7 separate regions of the Homo sapiens genome follow, and regions 2, 3, 4, 5, 6 and 7 are each linked to region 1. The links are contacts of gene promoters, found by promoter capture Hi-C in blood cells and fetal thymus (Javierre and others, 2016). All regions are on one chromosome and are shown on one strand. Each heading gives the region's core, a stretch centred on a gene start or on the middle of the fragment in contact. The rest is flanking DNA. Distances are from core to core; before and after follow the strand shown.

The links. Contacts are between HindIII fragments. The CHiCAGO score rates a contact against its expected background, and 5 or more counts as called.
Region 2: a fragment that was not itself captured here is called in contact with the fragment with the promoter of ALDH4A1 in region 1 in 1 of 17 cell types (fetal thymus); the score reaches 8.1 in fetal thymus.
Region 3: a contact is called between a fragment that was not itself captured here and the fragment with the promoter of ALDH4A1 in region 1, in 1 of 17 cell types (fetal thymus). The highest score is 12.6, in fetal thymus.
Region 4: a contact is called between a fragment that was not itself captured here and the fragment with the promoter of ALDH4A1 in region 1, in 14 of 17 cell types (fetal thymus, megakaryocytes, neutrophils and 11 more). The highest score is 15.1, in fetal thymus.
Region 5: a contact is called between a fragment that was not itself captured here and the fragment with the promoter of ALDH4A1 in region 1, in 1 of 17 cell types (fetal thymus). The highest score is 6.3, in fetal thymus.
Region 6: a fragment that was not itself captured here is called in contact with the fragment with the promoter of ALDH4A1 in region 1 in 1 of 17 cell types (fetal thymus); the score reaches 5.5 in fetal thymus.
Region 7: a fragment that was not itself captured here is called in contact with the fragment with the promoter of ALDH4A1 in region 1 in 1 of 17 cell types (fetal thymus); the score reaches 7.4 in fetal thymus.

Annotation. Positions count from the first base shown.
Region 1 is chr1:18,900,535-18,904,409 of GRCh38, forward strand. It overlaps ALDH4A1 (aldehyde dehydrogenase 4 family member A1), which reads right to left and starts at 2,021. Exons shown (of 15, transcript NM_003748.4): 1 at 1,928-2,021. The coding sequence starts at 1,989. It overlaps LOC124903866 (a long non-coding RNA gene), which reads left to right and starts at 1,579. Exons shown (of 2, transcript XR_007065519.1): 1 at 1,579-1,718; 2 at 2,276-2,837. IFFO2 (intermediate filament family orphan 2) reads right to left here. Exons shown (of 9, transcript NM_001136265.2): 9 at 3,746-3,875. RefSeq lists a silencer at 1,788-2,007 and enhancers at 2,088-2,317, 2,257-3,074. The HindIII fragment of the contact is 9,883 bases long and covers 1-2,317 here.
Region 2 is chr1:19,404,422-19,408,296 of GRCh38, forward strand. The region is part of intron 2 of CAPZB (capping actin protein of muscle Z-line subunit beta); the gene reads right to left. Among named protein-coding and RNA genes, the nearest start is that of CAPZB, 79 kb to the right of the region's middle. The HindIII fragment of the contact is 636 bases long and covers 1,822-2,457 here.
Region 3 is chr1:19,254,427-19,258,301 of GRCh38, forward strand. MRTO4 (MRT4 homolog, ribosome maturation factor) reads left to right here. Exons shown (of 8, transcript NM_016183.4): 2 at 356-414; 3 at 1,522-1,625; 4 at 2,638-2,719; 5 at 3,028-3,095; 6 at 3,407-3,558. Among named protein-coding and RNA genes, the nearest start is that of MRTO4, 4.6 kb to the left of the region's middle. RefSeq lists an enhancer at 1-334. The HindIII fragment of the contact is 2,913 bases long and covers 742-3,654 here.
Region 4 is chr1:19,235,738-19,239,612 of GRCh38, forward strand. EMC1 (ER membrane protein complex subunit 1) reads right to left here. Exons shown (of 23, transcript NM_015047.3): 9 at 3,494-3,565; 10 at 3,058-3,120; 11 at 2,280-2,402; 12 at 1,405-1,501. All of the region lies in intron 1 of EMC1-AS1 (EMC1 antisense RNA 1), which reads left to right. Among named protein-coding and RNA genes, the nearest start is that of EMC1, 14 kb to the right of the region's middle. RefSeq lists a silencer at 1-142. The HindIII fragment of the contact is 1,117 bases long and covers 2,068-3,184 here.
Region 5 is chr1:19,196,434-19,200,308 of GRCh38, forward strand. UBR4 (ubiquitin protein ligase E3 component n-recognin 4) reads right to left here. Exons shown (of 106, transcript NM_020765.3): 3 at 3,218-3,321; 4 at 2,366-2,495; 5 at 2,108-2,247; 6 at 1,514-1,616; 7 at 1,237-1,378; 8 at 708-832. Among named protein-coding and RNA genes, the nearest start is that of UBR4, 12 kb to the right of the region's middle. The HindIII fragment of the contact is 3,762 bases long and covers 184-3,875 here.
Region 6 is chr1:18,625,790-18,629,664 of GRCh38, forward strand. No RefSeq gene overlaps it. Among named protein-coding and RNA genes, the nearest start is that of PAX7, 3.1 kb to the right of the region's middle. The HindIII fragment of the contact is 3,276 bases long and covers 269-3,544 here.
Region 7 is chr1:19,170,432-19,174,306 of GRCh38, forward strand. UBR4 (ubiquitin protein ligase E3 component n-recognin 4) reads right to left here. Exons shown (of 106, transcript NM_020765.3): 23 at 3,008-3,190; 24 at 2,750-2,875; 25 at 2,433-2,662; 26 at 331-452. Among named protein-coding and RNA genes, the nearest start is that of UBR4, 38 kb to the right of the region's middle. The HindIII fragment of the contact is 1,441 bases long and covers 1,481-2,921 here.

The sequences.
Region 1 (3,875 bases), core at 771-3,270:
GCCGGGGGTGCCCCTGACATGCAGCGGGTAAAGGCCAGAGACGCTGCTAAACATTCTACAGTGCACAGGACAGACTCCACAGCAACCAAAATGTAGCCCCAAATGCGAATAGTGGTGAGGTTGAGAAATCCTGTCTAGGGCATGCGGCCAGCTGCTGTATCAAAGGGGTAACTTGAGCCCAGGGAACCAGCTGCAAAATGCTCTTTCTCTTTCCCCTCTCAATTCAGGAGGCCTCATAATTCAGAGCATAAATCTGGATTTAGACCAAATGTAATTTCAGTCATATATCTCTGATGGCAGATCGTTTCCCATGATAATACAGGAATGAGACAGTACTTACCGGCTCGGTGTTAGGCCCATGGTGCTTGATTGCTTGATAATCATTATTGTTATCATGGGCTTATCTTTTAGAATATGGATTGCTTTCTACTAGATATTGGAGGGTTTTCCTATGCATTTCTCCCCTATTAAGCCGAAAACTCCTCAAAGGCCCCACCCCATGTAAATTCCCTGGGTACCCCTCATCTCTAGGGTGTTTGGCAGAGCACCAGCTCACAGTAGGCACTCAGTAAACACAGGACTCTATAAGCTCCATCTTCCTGAGTCTCAGAGTGCAGGGAAGGCCTGCAAACGGGATCACACAGGGAGTATGGCAAGTGTGGCCCCAGTCTCAGCCTAGAAGAGGAACCCCTCTGTCCCATGTCCTCTTCCTGCGCCCTTTCCTATCCCCTCTTCACCCACAGAGGACACACAGCAGTGTTGCAACTCACTTGTGCTCAGAGCACCACCATGCCATCCCTTGGGGGAAGGGAGAGGGCCACTGATTAACTCAGAAAGGGCACAGCTCATCAGGAAAGACACTGCCACTAACAGCCCCAGGGGTCAAGCAAACAAACCTCAAATGGGAGGGGGGGCTGATCCACAGGTGGGCAGCCCCACCAGACTAGGAACCCCTCTGGGGCAGGGTCTGTGTCCCACCTACCTCTCCAAACCTAGCTCCGAGCTGGAGGGGCTCTGAGAATATTTGTCATTGAGTGGGCAAGGGTCCAGGCACCTGGCTCCACAATGTCAGGTTTGCAAATCGGGATTTGAAGGGCAGGTCCACCCCTGAACTGCTCCTGGGTTTCTTCATTATTTGGAATAATGACCTGCCTCACAGGAGTGAGAAGTTTAAATAGAGGTGATAATGATGATGATCGTGGCAATAATAATAACCGGGCGCTGCCTTTGTGCTGGGCACTGTTCAGTGCACTCCCCATGTATTAACTCATTTAATCCTCATAAGACACCTGCCAATTGCCCGGCCAGCATTTGGTTCATTATAAGCACTCTATAAATATGATTATTCCACCTACAAGAAGAAAGGAATCCTTTTTTCTGTCCAACATTTAACTTGAAAAAAAAAAAAAAAAACGGGCGGCGGGGTGTGTGGGGAGCGGAAAAGAGAGAGGTAGAAATCCTGGTAGAAGGAGAGGACTCGGGGAATCCGGGGCGGGATGGGGACACTGAACGTGAGACGAGGGTGGGGAAGTGAGATGTGTGGTGTGCTAAAAATAGAAGGGCCCCTCAGGGGAAGCCAGCAAATTGCGAAGATCCAGTATTAGGAGTGAGGTGAGTGACTACAGAGGCTACTTTCCGAGCGTGGGAACCGGCAGGGCCACCGAGGCACCCTACTCGGTCGCAGGATTCGGGAAGAGGGGTCCCCTCGCTAAAGGAAGGTGACTACCTGAGGGAGGAGGCTAAGGGATCTCAGTGGGAGAAAGGCCTGGGTGGGGGTCGGAGGGGAGCCCCTGAGGAACCCGGCGTTGACCGAGGCAGCTTGGGGGTCCGGCAGGGAGGGAGTGCGGCGCGGGGGACGCCCAGTGACTCTCAGGCTCCCGGGCCCCAGGCGCGCGCTCGGGCCGCCCCGGGCCCCGTGCTCACTCACCCGGCCCCGGTCCAGGGGCGGGACAGCAGGGCGCGGCGGAGCGCGGGCGCCGGCAGCAGCATCTCGGGTTAGAAGCGGGGCTGTTCGCTGGATCGTCCGCCCGGGCGCGGCGAGAATGCACAACCCCGTCCAGAGCGCACCACCTCGATCCTCGGGGGGAAACGGATCACCCCGGCTGTCCTCCGAGCTCGGGATCAGCCAAAGTCCCACTATATTTAGCTTCGGCTAATAAAAAATATTTCTAGTGCCATAACGGGGGCATTACACAACACAGGACAAGGGAACCCGAAAGCGAAGTCCTGAAATGCATGCGTTTTCCCCTCCTCTCTTTATGGTATGACCCGGGAGAGAGGGCGTGAACTCTGTCGACCAGTCAGAGTGACACACCAAAGCTTCTGAACCAATCAGCGGGGCGGTCCTGCGGCAGCCTTCCAAAGCGGAGCAGAGAGGGGCTGAATAGAGCCAATGAGATAACCGAAATGGGACACGTGCTGAAGCGGGGCAGAAGGACTCGCTGCGTCCGGCCCTCTGGCGTGCGCCCCGGGTTCGATGGGAGTCCGACTGACTTCTCTCGGGCTGCCGGTGGCTTGTACAAGGCTGGAAACCTGTCCGCTACCAGACTCCTCGACCCCGCAGGGCCACAGCGCGGCCAGCCCCCTGCTTCTTCCCGGGGGCTGCGGCCCCTGGAATGAGCCTGCCTTCCAGCTTCTTGGCCAGGACCCAGCCGCTCTCCACCTACCCTCCAGGCGCGGGGCCGGCCAGCTTCTTAGCTTCCTTGCAGATTACGATCAATGCAAGATAAAACCTGAGCTGGCCAACGCTTAGCTTTTCATTTAAAGCCTTTGGCCGCAAAACCAGTTGTTCCTGAGCCTTTTACCCCCAAGTAAAAATTTCAGCTTTCTTTGCAAAATGTTGTGTGCTTGGTAAACACTAGAATGCTATTTAAAACTTGGATTCTGAAGTCTTCTCTGATGACGAGGTCTCAGGGACCCAATCTATTCCTAAAGTAATGTTACGTTTCCTTACTCTCTGTTCTAATTTGTTTATATTTCTTCCAGCAGCATGAACCGCGCACCTGCTTAGGAGTCAGTTCCCATGCTGATTTTGGTTCCTCAAGCAGGGCACTAGGCAGACTACATATCCTTTCCGGGCCTCAGTTTCCTCATCTGTAAAACGGAAGTAATAGTACCCAACTCACAAAGCCCCCGTGATCTTAAGCCACTTATTTTTCTCCAGATTACACCATTTGAGGTACTTTGGGAGAATGTAAACATTTAAATGAAGAGTAGGAGAGGGAGATTACCTAAATGCCAAGTATTAGGAATGGCAAAAAGCAAATTGGAATTGGTGGCGGCTATTTGTCTTCACCTTTGGAGAAAACCCTAGACAGGTGGGCTCAGTTCACATTTGGGCAATGTTGCCCTGAACATGCCCATTGACAAGAAAAACTAGAACATTGGTTACTGTCAAATCCAGAGCCTGGGAAGGTGACCTCCTGTGGGCACGTTGGAGAGCCTGGAAAAATGGGGGCTTTGTGGTTAAAAGGACATCAGTTCCAAACCAGGCCAAGCCAGTTACTGAGCCTGTGATGTCTCATGTCCTCTCTTCCCCTTCAGTAAAATGTGTGTAATGATTCCTGCTTTGTCATCTTCCAAAGCTTTTATTGTGAGCTACAAATGTAACAGGTGATATGAAATCCCCTATTTTATGGCTAATTAACTAATGAGTTTGAGGGTTTCTGTGGCCTTCCGTCCTCCTACCCCTCCCCCAACACCAGATTCATCTTCTGTTTAAAAACAAAAACAAAAAAAAGCACCATCAGTTCTAAGACATTTCACTTTATTTAAAAGAAGCCAATATACAGGATATAAAGGGCATGATATTTACAACAGTACAGTAAACAGGTTGGTTTCCGGTAGGATCAGTAGTCTTTCCATGAGTATAAATC
Region 2 (3,875 bases), core at 890-3,389, 500 kb after region 1:
TAGTTCCAGCTATTCCAGACGCTGAGGCTGGAGAATCACTTGAACTCGGGAGGTGGAGGCTGCAGTGAGACGAGATCACGCCACTGTACTCCAGCCTGGGTGACAGAGCAAAACTCCATGTTAAAAAAAAAAAAAAAAAAAAAGAGGTAATGGGAAAAATGCTCGCTTGTCATTGCAAGATCTGAGCTCACCTCACAGTCCCTCTCCCACCTGGAAGAAGGCAGGACATTTCAGAGCCCGATCAAGCAGCATTCACCCACCTATCTGGCCAAACAGGGAAACGCAGGCTGCTTTTGACAAGGGGCACGCACCCTCCTCCTTAAAAGGACAGCTCAGCAATCATGGGAAAGCAGTGGATTCCAGCCGCTCCTGTCAGGGATTCCACCACCTTCTTTGGATGATTTGCACCAAGTATTTTCCCTACATGACTTCCTTTAATATTCACAATTGTCCTCTTTTAGAGTGAGGCAAATCCAGAATTCTCTCCATTACACAGATGAGGAAACTGAGGCCTGGAGTCTGGTAGCTTACCGAGGGTCACCTAGATATTCAGGATGCATGCTCCCAGCCCCAGCTAACTCATGACTCCGTGACCTTAAAGACTCTGTCCATATACTGCCACCTGCCGGGACCACCAGCCCTTGAGTCCCAGGGGCTGAGGTCTCCTGAGTCATAGCTCAGCTCCAAGAGGCATCCGTCCCTTCTCATCTCTGGGTCTCAGATCACACAGCCTAGAATGTCTAATGTGGACTCCCCTCAGAATTTGGGGATAGCAGGGTTTTTGGTTCATTATCTCATATTTATTTGTGGCCATATCGACATGTGGCCAGGCACTGTGTTAGGGTCTGGGGATAGAGGTGAGCATCATGGCATCCCGCAGGTGCTCGGAAGCCAGAGGGCCCTCCAGTGCTAAGAGTACAGTTACAGCACACAGCAGTGCTTTCAGTGCGTTAGATAAAACGTGGAGATTTGGCTGCCCCTACAGGCAGCGTTTGGGACTAGGAAGGTCAATGAGACAGGAAAACAATGCGGGCGAAGAAGTATTAAGCCTCTTTAAAACACCTGATGTACATATCTCCTCTACTCCCAACTGATGTTCAACACATAGCTAGAAAGAGGCAAAAAAAAAAAAAAAAAAAAAAAATCCCCTTGTATGAAGGATAATCCTTTCAGCCTGGGGCAAATCTCCTGAAGAGTTTTGTTCTGAACTAGGAGTGTTGTTTTAGCTTCCAGTCAATAGTAATTAAGAGTCCCAATATATTCCAGAAAGAGGGAGAGGGAGATTAACGATCATTAAATCTCTTCTGCATTTGGCTCCAAATCTCTTTTCGGAGGGGCCGGCTGTCAGATGATCCCTCCAAAGCGTCCATCTGACAGCACTCCCGCCGCCACCATCTGGAACATCAATTCGAGAGCTCGCCTGAAGGTTTCAATTACATAAAAGGCAATGGGCCCATTAGGACCCGAGAGTCTGGAGCTTCACAAGCGCTGCTCACACCCCCTCTCCTGTACACAAAGCCTCTAGAATTTGGTTGGCAGTCATTTGCAAAGGGACTCATTTTGGTGGGGGCATGGGGCTGGCCAGCCCCTTGGCAAGGCCTCTCTCAGGCAGGCTCTGTGCGTGCTATGACTGACAGGGTCTCTAATGAACCTTAATTGTGAGCTCGACAGGCCCAGGAAGGCAGCCACAGATGTGGCAAAGGGCAACCGCAAACCGTCTGATTAGTGAATAAGAAGTGTCCGGCCCAGTGAGGGCCAATGACCCAAAAAAGGAGGAGGGCGGGACTATTCCTCCCCCACGCATCCCTTCTAAAGCTCTGAAGCTTCTTTATGTAAGCAATGCAAAGCCTCTGGGTGCACTGGAACCCAACGCACCCCTCCCCCCGGCACTACTGCTTGGCAGCTGGCAGCTGGGATGTTGGGGTCTTGTGCTTGTTACCACGGATGCTTCCGTCTCCATCAGCAGTGCACCTTTAACCACAGGAGGCCAGAACAGAACGCCCTTTCAACGTGGGAAGGGGGAAGCTACCCACTACGGAGACTGAGTAACTTCTTGCCGGTGCTAAGAATTGTGAAGACAGCTGCATTCAGAGTCAGCCATCCTCTGGTGACCTGCAGTGACAAGGAGAAAGCTACTCCTGGGGCAGCTTTGGGCACAAACAGCGTGACGGAGAAGACAGGCTTTGCAGACGGGTAGATCCCAACTCTGCTCCTTACTAATTAGCTGTGAGGCTTGGACCAACTCATGAAACCTCACTTGGTTTCCTCATCTGTAAAATGGGCATAAAAGATCAACCTTGTGGTGTGCAGTTTAAATAAGCAAAGGGTCTGGAACAGTACCTGGCACACGATAGTCATCTCTTAAAACCCGGGAGAACAGCAGAGTATTTTGCGCAAGTTTGACATGACCTCAGAACTCCATGCAGACAGCTACTACAAGCCAGGTACTATGCTAGAAGCTTTACACCCCCCATCTCTCATTCTTGAAGTTAGTGTCATGCCCATCTCACAGATGAGGAAACTGAGGCTCAGTGGTCACACAGCTAAGACGTGGTAAAGACAAGAGCTGAACAGGATTGTGCCTTTCGATTTCAAGGCACTCCACTATCAACTTCAATGCTCCTAACCAAGCATTTCAGGCATCCTCAGACTAACAGCCTAGAAACACCTAACCAAGAATTTTGTAGAATTTGAATTCCCAAATACACCAAAACAGGCTTCTCTGGCCTGGCATATAAAGGTGTGGTAGGGGGCACTAAATGGCCAATCTGTTTCCAAGGAAGTCTGCAAAACAAATGAGGACTCCACTTCCAGCCTTGGTCTGCTTCTTGGCTAGTGGCACCTCACAAGCATTTTCTGCATCAGGGTCATGAATAGGTAGCAGCAGGTGAGCTGCTAAAATAGCCTCCCCACCAGAAAGCAGTCCCAGGAGAGGCCCAGAGATACAGAACAGAGGCCCATCACTGGGAGGTTGTGTAGGACCCTCACACATAGACTGGGGGGCTCTCAAGCTGGGGAAAAGGGTACCTGGGGGGAGACTAGAGATGTAGGTTCAAGAAGGGGACAAGAGATTCAGAGGAAAGAGGAGCAAGAGGTGAGCAGTGCTGATAAGGAAGAGGGTAAATGGCAAGGAAGCTGGGAAACCGACAGAAAGGATCCTGAGGACCCAGGTTTCACAGGTGACCTGGCACCTCTGGAAGGCTGAGGATTGAGGGGTCTGATGACCTGGGAGGCTGCAAGGCTGGCTTGTCCTTGGACACTGAGATCAACCTAAGACTCCTTCCTGCCGCCTTAGACCATCCAGCCACGCTCTTGTCTAGCTTTCTCTCCCAGGGCTTCCGAAGACTTTCCCAATGATAACCGGGGTCAGCTCCTCATTCAGGGAGCAGAAGCAGGAAGAAAAGTGCCTAGCAAGCAATCAGGAAGAGGAGGGGGAGAGACCCTCACCAGGGCGGACTGTGCAGCTGGTGTCAGATGACCCTTATCTCTGCAGAATGGAAACCAGCCAGCCAAAGTCTGGAGGCTCACCTTCTGACCTCCATGACTCGCCTTTGGGTGGGGGGCCGTGGCATTTTCAGCTTCCCATTCAGGGATCCTTACCTTGACAAGTTCTCATGACTATCTACAAGGCCTCAATGGAGGGCCTCTTAATCTCCTTCCTCAGTTAAATAAGCCAAGTCCTTGCAAACGTGCACTGGGTTATAAAATGCCCCACTGTGGGAGCCAAGGCTGGGACTTGGTTCACCTGTGAAAACTCAGCCCAAAAGGCTGCCCAGGGCATCAGGGCACAGCCTCTAGGCTGGTGGAACCCAGGAGTGAGCCAATCGGCCCTAGGAAGCCAACAAAGGCAGTAAAGGCAACAGCCAGCATCAATT
Region 3 (3,875 bases), core at 948-3,447, 350 kb after region 1:
CAGCCAGCAGGTGAGGTCTGCCACTGAGAGCACTTCTAGCAGCAGGAACAGCCTCCACCCCCACACTGCAATCAAGTTTTTTGGGTCAGCCTTAGGAGCTAAGAAAGGCCTAGTTTGTCTAAATAGCAGGAGTTATATCCAGGGATCTTCAGGCCCAGGAATGCTAATGAGTAGGCATTCCATGGGCCCTGGGAATGGCTTTGTGTGCCAGAAATGATGGCCACAAAGGCCTTGCTGCCTTTTTTCAGAATGGCTGCATCCAGCTGAGTGCTCTCTGCCAAAGGGGAGAAGAAAATAAGTCTCCAGTGCATTTAGATTGGTCTCTCATCATCTCTCTCCTTTTTGTTTTTATTAGTCTCCTTAACCAAAACTGCCAAGAAAGGCTTGGAATTGAAACAAAACCTGATAGAAGAGGTAAGAGGTTGTTCTTTTCTAGAGCTTGCAATTGTTTGGTTTATAAAGGTAGGTATAGGACTGTTGGCCAGGGATAGGACTGTTGGCCAGGGGAACATACTAGTGGGGAAAAAAAAAAAATCTCCAAGCTGCCAATCCAGGCCTTTTTCCTCCAGCAGCAGCACCAGCAAAAACTTCCATAGTGATGATTTCCAGCTTTGACTAGCTCGTACTCTGTGCCCTGTCCTGCACTGTGTTTCTTATGCGTTGTTCCACTCCATCCTCATAACATCCCTGTGATGTGGGTACTAGGTGATGATGTTGCTGTTTTGCATTTGGGGTCACTGAAGCTTACAGAGATTTGTTAGCCTGCCTAATGTCAAAAAACAGGAGGCCAGGAATGGTGGGCCACGCCTGTAATCCCAGCACTTTGGGAGGCCAAGTGGGTCAGACAGCTTGAGTCTGGGAGCTCAAGAGCAGCCTGGGCAACATGACAAAACCTCATCTCTACAAAAAGAAAAGAAAAAAAAACTAGCTGGACGTGGTGGTACGCAGCCTGGGCAACAGAGTGAGACCCTGTCTTTAAAAAAAAAAAAAAAGAGCTGGGAGATTTACCAGGTGTAGGTGACTGCACCAACCCACTGTCTGTACAGCTTCTGACCTGCCAACCTGGGCTGCAGGCTGGGTGAAACAGTCTCCTCCTGCACAATGACTCCACTCCTAGAGGCTGCCTCATGGTGGCTTTGGCCAGCACCACGTGCAGAGCAGTACCGATCAGCTGCCTCCCCTTATAACAGAGAGGCTCCATGTGTTTCCATGTAGCAGGACCCTTCCTAATGTGGGTGAATGTTTCTAGGTTAACAGCTGATGATCAGTTCCACTGTTGGTCATAAATAAGTGAGAGACCTGGAAAAGGCCGTGGGGTGTAGATCCATGGCTCAGCCTCCCCTGTGGTTAGGGATCCTAATTTCAGTAATGGAGGTAGGAGACAACCAAATTAGAGGCCTCCAGTTCTTCCAGTTTCCATAGTTGTCAGGGGCCCAGAGCAGATTCATTCTCATCTGAGGCCAGAGTAGTGCCCGTTGTATGCTGCTGCTTGAACTCAGAGCCTCGTGAATTGTCCCACAGCTTCGGAAATGTGTGGACACCTACAAGTACCTTTTCATCTTCTCTGTGGCCAACATGAGGAACAGCAAGCTGAAGGACATCCGGAACGCCTGGAAGCACAGCCGGTGAGCGGGCAGGGGGAGGAAGGCCCTTCTGAGTGGGGACCCGGCCAGGCTGCTCTCAGTCAAAGCACAGGAGCAATTTCTGACCCTTTAGGTGCCTGGGTCATGCCGCTGACACCTTAATAAGGACAAAGTGCTACCTGCCACTGAAGAGCACTTCCTTTTCACTGTTAAAGCTGGTCTTGGGCAGGGTGCGGTGGTTCACGCCTGTAATCCTGGCACTTTGGGAGGCTGAGGCAGGGGGATCACCTGAAGTCAGGAGTTTGAGACCAGCCTGGCCAACATGGCGAAACCCCTTCTCTACTGAAAATACAAAAATTAGCCGGGCATGGTGGCAGGCACCTATAATCCCAGCTACTCAGGAGGCTGAAGCAGAAGAATCACTTGAACCCATGAGGCAGAGGCTGCAATGAGCTGAGATTGCACCATCGCACTCCAGCCTGGGTGACAGAGTGAAACTCCACCTCAAAAAGCAGATTTTGCACTGAGCTCCTAGGGGCAGGACTTGGCAGTTGCTCAGGAGATGTTTGAGAGGTGGGCCTTTCCGGAGAAGTGGCCCTTTAACCCTGGACTGTGGGCCATTTAGGAGCATCACACCAGTTTTAGAATGTCAGTAGGGACACTGCGACACAGACAGTGACCTGGGAGCAGGATGCAGGAGCCACATGGCAAGTTTCTGTCCTGGGGCAGGTGGCTCTGGTGGTGGTCTCTTGCCGCACCAGCTCTGGTTCAGGCTGTTAACATGCCTCCCGCATACATCCAGATAGAGAACTGGTACATGATGCTCGTGATGGGCTGGGAGACAAAATGTTGCCATGTCAGGAGTCTGTGGGTGGGAACATAATGAAAGGGACCCCAACGTGGGGACAGTGTGGCCAGGCAGCATGGAGAAGTGGGTGCCACTGGCTCAGCCTGGGCCTGAGCTCACTGGGGACCGGAGCTACTTTGCATGTTGCTGAGGGATGGGGAGGGCAGGGCTCTTCCTTCACAGAATGCTCTTTCTCTTGCTTGGTAGGATGTTCTTTGGCAAAAACAAGGTGATGATGGTGGCCTTGGGTCGGAGCCCATCTGATGAATACAAAGACAACCTGCACCAGGTAAGTCTCTGGCCCTCACGGGGTGGAGCTAAGGCAAAGCCGCCCTCTCTCCCACTACTCCCATGTGACAGCCTCCCCCAGCCATTGGCAGGCCGGAGGCTCAGGGAGAGCAGGGCCTGGCTTAAAGCTCTGGGTTCTCCCTTCACCTCCGGACCCAAGGAATAGCAGCTTCCTGCCTCCCACTCCTTCCTGCTATGACAACCAAAAACGTCTTTAAATGTTGCCAAATGTACCCGGTGAGCAAAAACGTGCCTAGTAGAGAACCACTGCTCTAATGTGACCAAGCTGTCCTCACTCCTGATTTGTAGGTCAGCAAAAGGTTGAGGGGTGAGGTGGGTCTCCTGTTCACCAACCGCACAAAGGAGGAGGTGAATGAGTAAGTACTGCTGAGGAACGGAGGGAAAGAGGCGGGTGAGAGGGGATTTCAGGGAGGGAATGATGCAGGAACTTCGTTCCATATGTGGCATCAAGTTGGAACTGCTCCTGGAAGCCTGTCACTGAGCTAGTGGCCTGGGACCACAGCCCTCTCTGTCCTCTCCAGCATGGTGCTCTGGGCTGGCTGCTGGCCAGCAGCCAAGGTCTGTGATGGGGGAAGGCCCAGGGCCACGGGACACTTGGGGGAGCCTGACTCATGGGCTGGTGGCGTGGCCAGGAGCATCTCCTCCTACCACTTCTCTTTTCCCTTAGGTGGTTCACGAAATACACAGAAATGGACTACGCCCGAGCTGGTAACAAAGCAGCTTTCACTGTGAGCCTGGATCCAGGGCCCCTGGAGCAGTTCCCCCACTCCATGGAGCCACAGCTCAGGCAGCTGGGCCTGCCCACCGCCCTCAAGAGAGGTATGGGCAGCCCTGGAGCCAAAAGGTCACAGCCTAGAGTCCAAGAGCACGGGCCTGCAAGCTCATCCCTTTCTAGCTGAGCAAGTTATTTCTACAAGCTTCCATTTTCTCATGAGAAAATGGGGCTAAGAGTGCATGCCTCACAGTGGGGGTGAAAGCAGACAGTAACTTACAGCCAAAATGCAGCCCTTGAGGCCCATCAGGGGCCTTGCGCTTGTTTAAAAAAAAAAAAAGTCAAAAAATTAGACAGCCATGGTGGTGTGTGCCTGTGGTCCTAGCTACATGGGAGGCTGAGGCAAGAGGATCACTAGAGCCCA
Region 4 (3,875 bases), core at 1,376-3,875, 340 kb after region 1:
AAAAAATTAGCCAAGCATGGTGGCGAGCGCCTGTAGTCACAGCTACTTAGGAGGCTGAGATAGGAAGATCACTTGAGCCCGGGAGATTGAGGCTGCAGTGAGCTATGATCACGCCACTGTACTCCAGACTGGGCAACAGTGAGACCTTGTCTCAAAAAATAAATAAATAAATAAACAAAAGCTAAGCCTGTCTCCCAGATTTTCTAGAGAGACTCTTCTCGCTGACTCAGGGATTACTACAAGCTCTTGCATAAAAGGAGAAATGGCAGAGCAAGGGGCTGGAATCAATAGGTCAAAGGAGGAAAGTTCTGTATCCCACCGAGAATGCCAAGTTATTCTTCAAAAGCAGGTAACGGGGCCGGGCATAGTGGCTCATGCCTGTAATCCCAGCACTTTGGGAGGCCAAGGCGGGCAGATCACCTGAGGTTAGGAGCTTGAGACCAGCCTGGGCCAACATGGTGAAACCCTGTCTCTTACTAAAAATACAAAATTAGCGCCTATAATCCCAGCTACTCAGGAGGCTGAGGCAGGAGAATCGCTTGAACCAGGAGGCAGAAGTTGCAAAGAGCTGAGATTACACCATTCCACTCCAGCCTGGGCAACAAGAGCAAAACTCTGTCTCAAAAAAGAAAAAAAGAGCCAGGCACGGTGGCTCACACCTGTAATCCCAGCACTTTGGGAGGCCGAGGCAGGTGGATCACCTGAGGTCAGGAGTTTGAGACCAGCCTGACAAACATGGTGAAACCCCATCTCTACTAAAAATACAAAATTAGCCAGGCGTGGTGGTGCATGCCTGTAATCCCAGCTACTTGGGAGGCTGAGGCAGGAGAATCACTTAAACCTGGGAGGCAGAGGTTGCAGTGAGCTGAGATCATGCCACTGTACTCCAGCAGTCTGAGCAACAAGAGCAAAACTCCGTCTCAAAAAAAAAAAAAAAAGCAGGTGACAGGCCAGGCACGGTGGCTCACACCTGTAATCCCAGCACTTTGGGAGGCCGAGGCAGGCGGATCACTTGAGGTCAGGAATTCGAGACCAGCCTGGCCAACATGGGGAAACCCTGTCTCTACTGAAAATACAAAAATTAGCTGGTCGTGGTGGCACACGCCTGTAATCCCAGCTACTCAGGAGGCTGAGGCAGGAGAATCGCTTGAATCCGAAAGGTGGAGATTGCAGTGGGCCGAGATCATGCCACTGCACTCCAGCCTGGGCAAGAGAGCAAGACTCTATCTCAAAAAAAAAAAAAAAAAAAAAAAAGCAGGTGACATTTGGCTATGAACGAAACACTCAGGGCACACTCCACTTGAATCTCTTCCAGAAACCTGCAGCCTCCCAAAAAACAGTCTGATTGGAACACATTGGAAGGCCTGGGGAAATAAAAAAATGGGTTGAATGAGGTCTACTTACCCAACTGCTGCAGGAAAAGTAGCAGATGATCCTCTGTCTGCACCAAAGCCCGGTAGCCCACTGAGTCATCCTTCTTCAAGAACACCTGGATATACAGCTATAAGCCACAGTCAAGACCGGTGTAGTCAGTGAGGATCCAAATGCCTCTGAGAGCACCAGACCCCAGGAGTCAAAGCCTGGACTTAACAGAGGTACAGGCCATGGCATTATTTGATGTCTAAACAATGTAGCTATTATCTGGATGCCAGTAAGTGATACATATTCTTAGGAGCCAACATAATGATGCTGGGGTCTCCCAGACCTTTCCATGGAAGAACCTGAGTACTCCACGGGTACCACGCCATTCATCCATGCTCTAATCACACCCCACAAAGTGAGCAGGAGGCCGGGATTAGACTTTCCGCTTTAGAAACGAAGAAGCCACAGCCCAAGCAGCTGAGGAACACAACCAGATGCACACAGAGGCAATACTGGGTAGTGATGAGGAGTCCAGGCTGTGGGGTTAGACCTGAATCTGAACCGCAGTGACACCTCTTACTGGCTCCGTGACTCTGGCTATGGTACTCGATCCCACCAGGCCACAGAATCATTTTAAAACCAGGTCAGGAACAACCGCTTCATGAGAGTGTTTGGAGGGTTAAATCAATTAATGTGTAAGTTAAAAGCTTAGAACAGTCCCTGGTGCACAATGATGAGCTGGCATAAATAATACCCGCCTTTACTGTGACTTCTAACAAGTCAGTGGCTCAGAGAGCACTAGAACACATGTTTAGAGAGCCTAATCCAAGCCCCATGGCTAAGACCTGGCCCTGAGGAAAGGAAGCCATGTGCTGAGAAGCCCACAGGACAGTCTGCAAAGAAAGGCTCTGCCTTACCCGCTCAGGCCGAGTGCCGCTCTGTTCCAGGCTAAATGTTATCGTGGTGTCCAGCAGCCGCCGACCTGTCTCCACGAGGTATAGGTTAATGGTGTAGGTCTGATTGAAGCAAGCCAGAGAGTCCTAGGAGTACAGACAGCACGTGTCAACTACAGGTATCCCCCGAAAGCAAAGCCCACCAAAGGAAGTCCAAGGATTGGGGGCAAATACCCTAGAGAAGGAGCCAGGCCAGAAGGGGAAATATATGCAAAGGAGAATAAAAGAGAAAAGCAAGCTAAATCCTAAGGCAGAAATAAGGTGCCTGAGTAAATAAATGAAATTACAACTACCATACTTGTCTTGGAAGCCAGTACAGAGTAGCAGAGACTTCTGAGAGAGAGGTAGGGCTGAGCAAGGTAAGACTGAGCAAGACAGGAGGCAGGGAAACGCTTAGATGGAAGCCACAGCAGGAACCTATGCCTCCAGCCAGGGGCTCATGCCTCTGCTACAGGGTAACTGCACAGAGTACTACTCAACTGTGCCAGCCAGGATCCCAAAAGAAATGGGGACGCTGAGGCCCAGAGGAGAAAGTGGCTAGAAACAGACTCTAGGGATTCTACCTCCTAATCTCCCGGTAAAATGAGATTAAGAGAAACATCATTTAATTTACAGTACTTAGGAAACCTCATTTGAAGCTGGGAACTCTAGGACCTGCTCCTAACCAAAGCTCTTCCCCCAACTCTCTTTGGTGGCCTCCTGCGTCTCTAGGTCTGGCATACTGCCCAGTGCCACACCATACCTTTGAACTAGACTTCTCCGAAAAGCTCCCCATTGACCCATCTTCAGAACTGCTACTTTTCTGCTATGAGAAAGAGAAGGACAGGAGAAAATTCAGCCAAAGGGTCACTTCCCAGTCACTGAAATGAAGCTTTTGTTTTTGTCTTCTTAGCACTTGAGAGAAGACAAAGCTCATTTCTCACCCCTGCCCACAAAGCCTATTCAACCCTTAATAGCCCCATATGAAAGTAAGGTCATCACATTAGGGTCTCGTTCCTGGGGAGAAATGGGGTGTGCAGAAAGCTCTATAGTTGAGGCAAGACCTCACTTCTCAACAGCCTCCTGCCCGCTGGGTTCAAACTGACCAGGTCAATGTGCCCAGACTTCTGATTTTCAGGGTTCCTAGTGGAGACCAGGAAGGAAAATCCCAAGTGCTGACTGTTGTTCTCAATACTCACCACTTCATTCCGACAGGCCATGACTGCAGCCACCGTCTTCTCCCCAGTGGTGGCAAAGCTCACTAGGGCAGTCTGGGGGAAAAGCAAGGCATCAGCTCCTAAATGGGACCAGTACTAGCCAGCTGCCTTACAGAGGGTCACCTCTCCAGGGAAGGCCCTTGGCCTTAGAGTTGAAAGTGCTCCCCACTTTGGAGCAGAATGGTCAGGCATTTAAGAGCAGAGGGAGGCCTCAGTTGCATCTACAGCTGAAAACAGAACTCTCCCTACCTCCAACGCAGGCACAGGTCAATCTTAAATCCCATGCTGCTTGTTCTTACTATCTATGGGGAAGCTCTCATTTATGTCCCCATATTTCCTTTGGACTAAGGAAGGCACTAGTTTT
Region 5 (3,875 bases), core at 815-3,314, 300 kb after region 1:
TCTGAAATTGCTATAACTTCCAAGACATACCAGAGATATGATATGTCTCGGAACTTAAAGCCAAGGATCAGTGATCTGGGCTAAAAAGTCCTTTTAACAATAACTTAAAAGAGAGTAAACACCAGCTGTCAGGCCCTGCTTCAAAGGCAGTAAGATCAACAGGAAAAAAGGGGATTTTATGGAAGCTTAAAGAATATCATTCTTCGCATTTATCAGTATAAACAGATACCACCTGTTCCACGAAGCCTTCTTCAAACCTGATCCCACAGCAAGACTCAATCCCTCTCTTCTCTGTGTACCGAAAATATTCTATACTTCTATTGCCTTTAATACTGTTTTATATTATACTATTTAGCTTTATGTGTTCTCTGCTGCTCAGATGTAGGCTCCTTGAGGGCAGAGACTACATGTAGTTCATCTCAATATCTCAACAGTCTTAGGCAATTTGCTTTTCATATAGTAAATATTTAGTATCTGCACATACTATAAAATCAAATATGCCTATAACGCAATGGCAGCAGTGAAACAACAGGACCATTTACAAAGATTCCTATTGAGACCTCATTTCACCTTGATGCGACGTTAGATGATCCTTGAGAGAAGGAAGCAAGGGGGATGAGTAGAGTATTCAGGAGGATTTTCATGGTTTCCTGAAAGTATATCTCTGCTTGACTGAGAAAATGAGACCAGATATAATAACTTCTCACCTGCATACAGACAACTTAGGCTGAGGACTGTCACATCTTGTAGACGAGAAGGATTGAGAGGTTCCAACACAGGTAGAGAAAGGGTATCCAATGCCATAGTTACATCAATCACCAATGAATGAAAGCTGGAACATGACAGAGATCAACAAGTGTCTCTTAGAATCATTCACTTCTATAATGTGACAGTTAAAGAAATTATCAGCATGGGCCCGGCACAGTGGCTCACGCCTATAATTCCGACACTTCAGGAGGCCAAGGCAGGAGGATTGCTTGAGCCCAGGAGTTCAAGACCAGCCTGGGCAACAAGGCAAAACCCCGACTCTACAAAAAATACAAAAATTAGCCAGCCATGGTGGTGTGTGCCTGTAGTCCCAGCTACTCAGGAGGCTGAGGTGGGAGAACTGCTTGAACCAGGAGACGAGGTTACAGTGAACCGAGACTGCACCCCTGCACTCCAGCCTGGGTGACAGAACAAGACCCTGTCCCAAAAACAAAAAAAGTAAAGCATGTGCACTGTGAAGCACCTTACCCATTACGAACAGCAGTGGCATCTGCTACTGTTGCAGGCATTATGAAGAAGGAATTAGCTAAAACTGCATCTTGGAACCGATTGATATAGCGTAGGAAATATGGCAGGTTCAAACATACACGCAGTAGCTTCTCCGAGCCACCTAAATGAATGAAAACCACAACCTTACAAACAGGCCTTTGTCTGATGCTTGATTCTTATCCATATGACAGAAGCACACTTAAGGAATTTTTGACAGCCCAGAAATCAGCTTTCTGATAACAGTTGGGAGTCTTACCAAGCTCTTGAAGACTAGCCACGTTCTGAGCTATGAACACATTCTTGGTTTTGATAGCTGAGGCTTGATCTGTAGATGACTGCTCATCATTTTCTCCTTCCACCTGAAAAGAAACATAAGGCCTGTCAAGATACTATTATCTCTTCACCAAACCAACTGTCAAAAGTGAGCAGTAGCTGCACGGATACTCTCCAGACTCCCCAGTTAGTGAAGGGAAAATTCCTTACTCATGTTGGAGAAAATACAGGTTACATTTTCAGGAGGAGGGAAAAAATATACAGCTTTAAAATATATATATGTTCTATAACCAAAATGGAGTGATGCCTTTATATAGAAAACTGTACATACACCTTACATTTGTTAATTTGCATTGAGAGAAGCCTAGAATGGTCGTCAAAACAGTAATAACCGTGGACAGAAGAAGGAGTTGGGGTGAATTTTACTTGTTTTATTTTGTATTCCTCAATTTCTTTTGTCCCACAGACATGTATATCATTTTATATCACAAACATAAAATACATCACTTTTTCTCCCCTAGTGTTATCATCTTAACAAAACCCACAGAGAAGAAGACATTTGACTAAAGAAACTCACCAGAGTCTGTGTACTGATAGGTTGTGATGCTACAGTTCTAGGGTTAAAAACTGAGGTCAGCTGGTTCAAAAAATTCATCTGTACCTCCTTTTGCCTCAACTCAGGGCTTACTGGTGAGGCCAGCTCTTTCTGATCTTCCACTGTAAAATACAAAGGCAAAAAAAAGGGCTGAGGAAAGTGCCACTAGAAGGCAAAGGTGCCATGGAAAAGGTGCCATGGGGGTGGTCATGTGATCAGATCTGTCAAAGGAACACCCACCGTCTGAAAGTGTCTTCACTGTTTGGGGCAGCTTGGCGGATTTCATCATTGCTGTAAATGTGATAATTTCAGTTCTATCTAGTCGGCTACAGCCAGTGCACAGGCCCTTGATTAGGAGAATCAAGTGTTTCTGAAAAGAAAACAAATGCAAACAAAAGAAAACAAAAACAAATAGATCTTTCAGAAAATTCTACTCTTTTGGAAATTCTAACTGGCACAGGGCCAAATTTAGGTTCATATAAACACTAAAGCAAAGACTGCAAGCTGATGTCCTTAGACCGTATGTAGCTTATAGATTTGTCTTATTGTTCTCACAATATTTTTTTAAAATTTGAAGGGAATGAAAAGATTCACATGCAAATCTGAAATTCTCACGCTCAAATAATTCACAGTATAGCAACCTTGCACCTCCATTCCTGCATGGCAGTAATAACCCAGAGCCAAATAGTGGTTAGCCCCTTTAGTTGGGACCTGCAATCTTCTCAACTAGCACACTTTACTCATTTTCTGTTACCTACCTGGCCCCTGCAGGTATGTAAGTTTGCAATCCTTGAGAAGACTCTGTAGCCCCATGTACCAGAGGTTGGCAAACTACAGCTCCAATTCAAACACTGCCTGTTTTTGTAAATAAAGTTTACTGGAACACAGCCATGTTCATCATTTATATATTAATCTATGGCTGCTTTCACACTAAAAAGGCATAGTTAACTAGCTGCAACAGATAACATACAGCCTGCAAATGATTTCCTATCTGGCCTATTACAGAAAAAGTTCACTGACCTCTACTCTATTCCACTAGTCAGTCACAACACTGCTTCAGAATAGGGCAAGAAATGGGCCCATCACTCTCACCTGGGACACAGCACAAGCCTCATCTGGATTCTCCAGACGCAGGAGAGAAAACTCAATTAGAACTTTACAGGCTGCTGCCACTGACTGAAGTTGGTTCCGGGGAACTGAGAAAGTAATAAACATTACTCAATTTCAGACTGCTCAGCGTTGGTCAATAAATTAAGCAAAGTAAGTATTGAGCTCTATGTCCAACATTCCCAATATCGTAACAATTATTCAGAGCCAAAAACCCAAGGGGTAAACAAAGGCATTTTGACATCAATAACTACCAGATCAATTTATCTCATATTTACTAGAAATCAGGATAACTATAATAGGAAATACTTACATCACACCAGTGCCAAGCACTTCAAAGGTATTAACTCATTTAATTCTTAAACCAATTCTATGAGGCAGATATTCATATTATCCCTGTCCATTTTTAACAGCTGAGCTAACTAAATGACTTGACAAAAGTCACATAGCTAGGTTTAAATCCAGGCAGTCAGCCTCTAGAGTTCATGCTCTTAACCACTAAACCAGGAGTGTGCAATCTTTTGGCTTCCCTGGGCTACACTGGAAGAATTGTCTTAGGTCACACAAAAAATACACTAACAGTAACAATAGCTGATGAGCTTTAAAAAAAAAAAGGCAAAAAAAAAAATCTCATAATGTTTTA
Region 6 (3,875 bases), core at 657-3,156, 270 kb before region 1:
AGACTGGGGCGGGCTGGCAGGGGAGGAGGGGTATTCTCTTCCTCCTGGGAAGGTTCTTTTTCCACTTGAGAAATGGAAAGGAAAGAGGGATTACCAGACACGGGCAGAGAGGAAAAGGCTTTTACAGATATCAGGGAACACTCTGTAAAGATGGCTTCAACCGCATCTCTGAAAGCCAGTAGAAAAGCATTAATAGGAGAGGAAACTGCAGAGAGGAGAAGGAAGAGAAGTGGGAGAAGCACCTTGGCCCGTCTTGGGTCTCTCTCTAAGCTTTAGCCTTGCTTGTCTTTATTTCCAGAACCTTGAGAGGTAAAAGGCTCCCAGGACCAGCCTGAGAAGGAGATGAAGGGAGAAATGGAGGAAAAGAAAGCAGAGAGGAGGAGAAAAGGAGGAAGGAGAAGAAGAGAAGGAGAAAAAGAGGAGACATAAGAAACAGGGAGGAGAAGGAAGAATGGAGGAAGGAGAAAGAGGGAGAGGGAGAAGAGGAGGATGAGGAGGGGAGGAAGGAGAACACAAGGAAGAGAAGGAAAAGAGGTGAAGAGTGCCCCATGCCTGTAATCCCAGCAATTTGGGAGTCTGAGGTGGTTGGATCACCTGAGGTCAGGAGTTCGAGACCAGCCTGGCCAACAATGGTGAAACACCATCTCTACTAAAAATCCAAAAATTAGCCAGGTGTGGTGGGGGGTCCCTGTAATCCCAGCTACTCGGGAGGCTGAGGTGGGAAAATTGCTTGAACCTGGAAGGCAGAGGCTGCGCTGAGCCAAGATCACACCACTGCACTTCAACCTGGGTGACAGAGTGAGACCCTGTCTCAAAAAAAAAAAAAAAAAAAAAAAAAAAAAGAGGTGTAGAGGAGGAGGAGGCGAAGGAAGAGGAAGAAAACAGAGGAGAAAGAGAAAACAGAAAAGGAAGGGGAGGAAGAGGAAGAAAACAGAGGAGAAAGAGAAAACAGAAAAGGAAGGGAAGGAAGAGGAAGAGAAAGGGTGAAGGAAGAGAGGAAGAGGAGGAGAAGGAGAGGAAGGAAGAAGACCAGGAAGAAAAAAGGGAGGAGGCTCACTCGAGAGCCCACTTAGCAGTAGGCCTGAGAGAAACCTGGTTATTATTACTGTTGTTGTATCTTTAGTGATGTTGTTCTTGCCCAGTTCTTGAGAACTGGAATCCAGTGCATACTATTCCATTTTTCTGGGGAAAATGAAAATGTCAAGCAAGCTATCAACTTTCCTTTTTGTTTCTATTCAGGTTTGGGCAGATTATTTCAAGCTCACCCCTAGAAGAGTGCCACTTCTTAAAAGAAAAGCATAATAATAAAAGGTCGGTGCCTCTTGGAAATGTAGCGCTGAGGAATTCCAGCCTCCGAAACCTGGAAGGAGACTCCTGAGAGTCCTTTGTTCCTGGATGTTCAGTTTCCCTCCCCACCCCCACGCCCACCCCCTCCTCTCTCATTATCAAACATTTGAAGACTGAGTAATTCCATTTGTTGATGTCTTTGGCCTCCTCTAGCAGAGCAGGCCAGAGCCTCTGAAAATGCAAAGGCCCCCAATGAAATAAAAACCCCTGGTTTTCAAGGTGGATTTATCACCCTTTAAAGGAATATTTATTGGGTAATCACTTTCCAAAAGTGCTCATGACACAGGGGACTGAAATAAAGAGCGTCCTCTCCCTCGGGCTGAGGGAAGAGGCTGTTGGCCACTTGGATGCAGGGAGGAGGGAGCCTCTTTGTGGCCTATGTCTTGGGAGGGAGCAGCCAGAGACAGGCCAAGTTTCCCCAGCTAAACTCAAGCTGGGGTCTTGCTTCTGTACCTTGGGCCTACTTATTTCTCTCCCGTTTCCAAACCCAAATTGGGTTTGGAAGATGCCACTTGGAAACTTGGGAAGAAGAATTCCTATTAGCATTGTTGTTGCCTTTAAGAAAAGGGAAAAGGAGGAATGCAGAGATTTCAGACCAGACGGGGTGAGCTAGAGATAGGAGACAATCATCCAAGCCAGACCACACTGAGACGGGAATGATTCCTGGCGGATTAGTGGGCTGGGCTGGGCCGGGCCGGGAGATGCACCCCAAGACCAAGCAGAGAAGGAGGATCTCTTCCCCAAGGTCTTTAGCCAACCTCATCTGGACCAAAGGATCTTCCCAGGGATTCAGGTCTGAGTTACAGCCCAGAGAGCAATGGAGGCCCATACATACCTCAGGAAACCATGGAGATGGGGGAGGCGGTGACAAGACAGACAGTCCCAGAGAAAAGCCGCTGGGGTGAAGCCAGAAAGGCAAGGAGGAAAAGAGAAAGAGAGACCAAAAGAACAAAACAGATGGAGGAGACCATAAGATAGACTGAGGGGGAAAGAGAGACAGGAAAAATGTTTGTGTGTGAGAGAGAGACAGAGAGAAAGAGGGTGAAAGAGGGTGAGGAGAGACAGGGATAGAAAGAGGGGGTCAAGGGCTAAAGGAAAACTTTCTGGAACAAGTCTGGCCCAGCCCACACACTCAGAAGCCCTCACACCCTCCCAGCAGCAACTGGAGGTCTTAGGAGTTGATTAAGCCTGCATGGGGGTGACTTTTTCTAGACAAGGGGGTAAGCAAAGGGAAACAAGAGGAGGGGACGCGGCTCTCCCCCATCCCCAGCCACAGTTCCCAGGTGAACCCCCCTTTCCCCTGCTGGATGTGAAATCGCCATTTCACCCCACCACACTCCTTAATTGTTGCAAAAATCATTTGTGAAATTGGTCTCCAACAGGCAAGAACGGCCACGCTCATTCCAATAGACAACCCCACCTCAACCCTTCCCTCTGCAAGGGCCCATGGAATCCCGGAGCTGCAGAAACCCTGGGGGCCTGTGTCGCTACTGCACCCACTACTGTGAGTCTTTTGCAGGGAGGGTGAGGGACCACACTGTGGGCAAGGTGGCCCCAGTGCAGGACTCCTGAGGTTCTGAGGGTCCCTGGCAGCAGAAGTGTCCAGCTATGCACTCGCCCCACTCAGCTCAAGATGCTACATGAGCACTGGCCAGAAGAGAGGGAGCCTCCCACCCTTGGCACACCCTGGAGGTCTTTTCTCACTTGAGAATTGACCTAAACACACACTCACACATTCCTGACGCGCGCTTAGAGCCATACCAAGGCAACCTGGAGGTGACCTCAAAGCAGAAATACAGACATGGACCCTCACTTAGAAACACACATTTACTCAAACTGACCCCAAACAGACCTACACACAAAACCCACCTGCACCTTGACACACAGACCCGGGCACAGGCCTATATTCACACGCAAGCACACTGGCCCATTCCACAAATACAGGGAAGAAGTGCCTTGAAACCTTCCAGGCAGAGGACAGCTAGTGACGAATGAATGGATGAATATGCAATATACCTAATATATATGTGTGTGTGTTATACGTGTGTATGCATAAGTGTATATGATACAAATACATGTATATATACACACAGAGAATATATATCCACCTATGGAGGTCAAAGCAGGCCAGGTCCCCAGCAAGGCTGGTGATGTAAGGGGGTTGCTGTCTTCCCTGGGCACACATGCTATGGCTTAAAGCTTGATCTCCCAATCTCTCCCGGGGGAGGGCCCCATAACTTGGGCCAGGCAAAGTACCCCGGTGTCCCCCTTCCAATTCGAAAGCTACTTGGCATCTGTCTTCTCAGTTAGAGAGAGTATGAGCTCAACAAGTTTTTCATCAGGGCCCCCATTCCCAGAAGGCCCCCCCAAAATCTGATGAGCCCCTTGTGCTAGGAGAGTGGGGAGAGGAGGGAGATCTGTCACATGCTGCAAGGGGCAAAGGTCACAGGTGAGGCGAAGGGGAGGGATGGGGACACCCTGGGGCCAGCCAGCGGTGAGCGCCCCAGGCTAAGACAAGGCTGACCCCA
Region 7 (3,875 bases), core at 951-3,450, 270 kb after region 1:
GGAGAGCAAAGATCTGTGCTAAAGACAAAATAGCCTTATGCTTTGGAACCAACAGATCCTGGTTTGGATCCCAGCTCTATCTCTTGCAAGATGCAGGATTGTGGACAAATAACTTCTCTAGGCCTAATTTATAATGAGTAAAAAGGGGATCAAAGTAACACTTCTTGGGTTATTGTGAAGATCAAAATAGACAAACCTACCTAAATGCTTGATACACAAAAAGGCTCCAATAAATAGTAAACGCCAGTAGGCACCAAGGGAGAGAAGCCATAGTACTAGCAGTAGTAGCTGTTGTAATAATATTACTCAAAAGCACATTTGTTCTCTTACCCAGAGTATTTGCCTTGCACCTGCTAGAGCCAATAGCCAAAACAGCAGCAAAGCCTTGCAGTTTCTCCTTGGAAGGTTTCTCAGTTGTTCCCTCTTCATTAAAGTTTTGCAGCAAATAGGCTCTGGGGAAAAAACAGGGGGAAAGTGAAGCCATAAGATTCTAATCCCACCAGTTAGGAAAAACTGGCCCTAGACTGGCTGAAAACCCTATATCTCAGTTTCCTATCTATTTAATGTAGTTGATAGTGCCTGCCCCTTCCTGGTCTCTAAGAATTCCAATGGGTAATCATTTCCCAAAGAATGTCCCCTCCTCTGAAATGCTCCCAAAACATGACTGCCTGACAAGTAAGCCTGAGAAACAGTGAATACTATATCTATCCTCCTTCCCCACCTCAGAAGATTGACAATGTATACAGTAAAGGCTCTGAATACTATATTTTTTAAAACAAAACAAAACAAAAAAAACTGTTTATCCAACATTTTGCAAACTTACTTGACCAGGAACGTTAACAGCTCAGTGTGGAAAGTACTGGCCTATTAGGCCAGATTAGAGTCTGTAAATTCCCAGAGGGCAATGACTTGGTCTGCTTTGGCTACTGCCATAACCCTAGCACCTAGAAAAGTACCTGGCACGTAGCAGCCATACATATTTGTTTGGCTCAAACAAATTTGAGCCAAAAAAAAAATTTGCCTCAAACAACAGCCCTCTATCTTCTGCAAGGCAGTCATACTAAGAGACAAGGTTAGTTAAGTCTGACAAAGATCTAGGTCCCTTTAAAGCAGCATAAAGCCCACAGAGCTGGGCACGGTGGCTCACACCTGTAATCCCAGCACTTTGGGAGGCTGAGGCAGGTGGATCACCTGAGGTCGGGAGTTCAAGACCAGCCTGGCCAACATGGAGAAACCCCATTTCTACTGAAAATACAAAAATACAAAAATTAGCCAGGCATGGTGGTATGCACCTGTCATCCCTGCCACTCGGGAAACTGAGGAGAATCACTTGAACCCAGGAGGTGGAGGTTACAGTGAGATGAGATCGCACCACTGCACTCCGGCCTGGGTGACACAGTGAGATTCCATCTCAAAACAAAAAAGCACCATAGAACAGGAGTGAACACTGAGATCCTACAGGGACCAGATAAAGTCAATAAGCTTAAGAGAGCCCGGTGAAAACTGCTGCAAAGGGAACTAATTCTCAGCTCCAGTCTGTTACTGTTGTTTGGGAAGTCAGGCCCAGTTTTGCCAGTTCTTCCAATTTAAGAAAAGCCAGAAATCTAAACTTGTGAATAATCTCCCAATTTTATATACTGAAATTAACTTTAAATATTTAAACATCATACAGACCAAAGTCTACAGGGCATGCAATTTGCAGTGTTTGTTATAGAAAGAGTTGAATTTCAAATAATTTCTAACTCATTTAGAGATTTTTTTTTTTCTCCAACTACATATCATCACATGTAAAGAGCATTTAAGGGCCAGGCACAGTGGCTCATGCCTGTAATCCCAGCACTTTGGGAGGCTGAGGTGGGTAGATCACCTGAGGTTAGGAATTCAAGACCAGCCTGGCCAACATGGCGAAACCCCGTCTCTACTAAAAACACAAAAATTAGCCAGGCACGGTGGTGCATGCCTGTAATCCCAGCTACTCAGGAGGCTGAGGCAGGAGAATCACTTGAACCCAGGGGGTGGAGGTTGCAGTGAGCCAAGATCGCACCATTGCACTCCAGCCTGGGCGACAGAGCGAGATGCCATCTCAGAAAAAAATTTTTTTAATAATAATAAATAAAGAGCATTTAAGGAGCTTTAACTCAGTTAATAACAGAAATGACAGTGTTTTGAAAAATTACCTTTCTCTGTATCCTACGAGTAAAATCGTACAAAATATTTAAAGAATTATAGACATTAAACTTCCTCCTGACTCCTCCTGCACTATTTGAAAATTTCCTCATCAAGCACCCCTTCATACTAGAGAAGAAAGCATTATACGTGGGGAAAAAAACCCCTAAGCTGAAGAAAGAGAAAAATGTCAAATTCTGAGTCAATGCGGGATCTGCACGGAGTGAAGAGTGCATGTGCATCTCTGGGCAGGCAGTTCGCCACACCTGGTGAACGATGCATAGGTGTCAATGAGTTGCAGCGTGGCTGGAAGTAGGTTCTTGGTAATCTCAGACGACTTATGAGGATCAGTCTCAGCAGCCATCTTAGAAAAATGCTCATCCAAAGAGACCTGGACCTTTGAGATCGCGGCATCAAGGGTGTAGATGGACTGCAGACTGGGAATTTCATGCAGCTGCAAGATGGTGGTACAGTCGATACTACAGAAGGATGAGATCTTTAAAAATATGCAAAATATAATTAGCTGTGGCAATGGGCTATGGTAGAAACCAAGTTCTATCATTTAGGTTCCAATATTACATACCTGTCGAGCGAAGTATTCCTCTACTATTTCAACATCATATTTCACTGAGCTACACTTAGTGGTGGATGCCAGTTCTAGAAGCGAGCTAGCATGCTCAGCCTTCATTCCCTGTTTGATAAGGTGATCCTATTTGGACAGCAAGAAAAAGTGTTTAGGAGATGACTATAGGCAAAGCTTTCATTATCTTCAAATTTAAAAGCTCCAGTAAGCACAAAGCACTTTGGCTTTGAATAGTCTTAGCAGCAAGCTCTGTGTTACCTTTATCCAGTTGACATAGGAGCTGATCCGGAGCCGAGAAGACCATCGCAGAGTGTGCAAGATGTCACATTCGCTCATCTCAGGTGAGTTCATGGATAGCTGGTTAATGTAAGTCTTTGATGGTGGTAAAATTCCTAGGATCCTCCACAGTATCAAGAAGTAATATTGAAGGGCACAGGCCTCCTGGAGAAAGGAAAAGCAGCATAGAGGTAGCACTTGGTATGGCCTCAAGATCTCCCTCACAGTACGAACTACTCCAAATACAACTTTTAAACCAGAACTGTATAGAGTCCTGATTTTAAATTGAGATTTGGCCCCCAAGTCCATTCTCCAGATCTTTCTAGAGAGTGCACCTAGCAGAAAATGGCAGAACACACATACAAATAATTTGTTCCGTATTCTGCACATTTCACAGACCAAAAAGGCTATTCCAAGACAACTTTGGCTCCCCAATAATTTACCAATTAACCAAAAGAGGGCAGGACATTCTGCTTAGCAGACCTGCAATCAGCTATCCGTTTTTGTGGCCTGGAATTGCTTCTAGAATATAGAGACACATTAACAGAGCCATGGAAAAATCTCAAGCGTGAGGCTTTCAATATCACACATCAACCAGTATTGACAGGAGATATAGCACTTGGGGGGGGACCACTAACTCTTAAATTACAGTTCTCTCAATGGTAACCAAAAAAATGCAACAGCTGATTAAATTATCTTTAAGGTGAACATAGCTACACAAACTACCTAGAAATACTCAAGTATCAGTCAGTTTTGCAAATCAATATTCAATAAACTGGTTACATTTCAGAAGGAAATTTCTGATAGAAATGATCAATGATCAAACACAACCCAAAGACTTCTCAGGGTT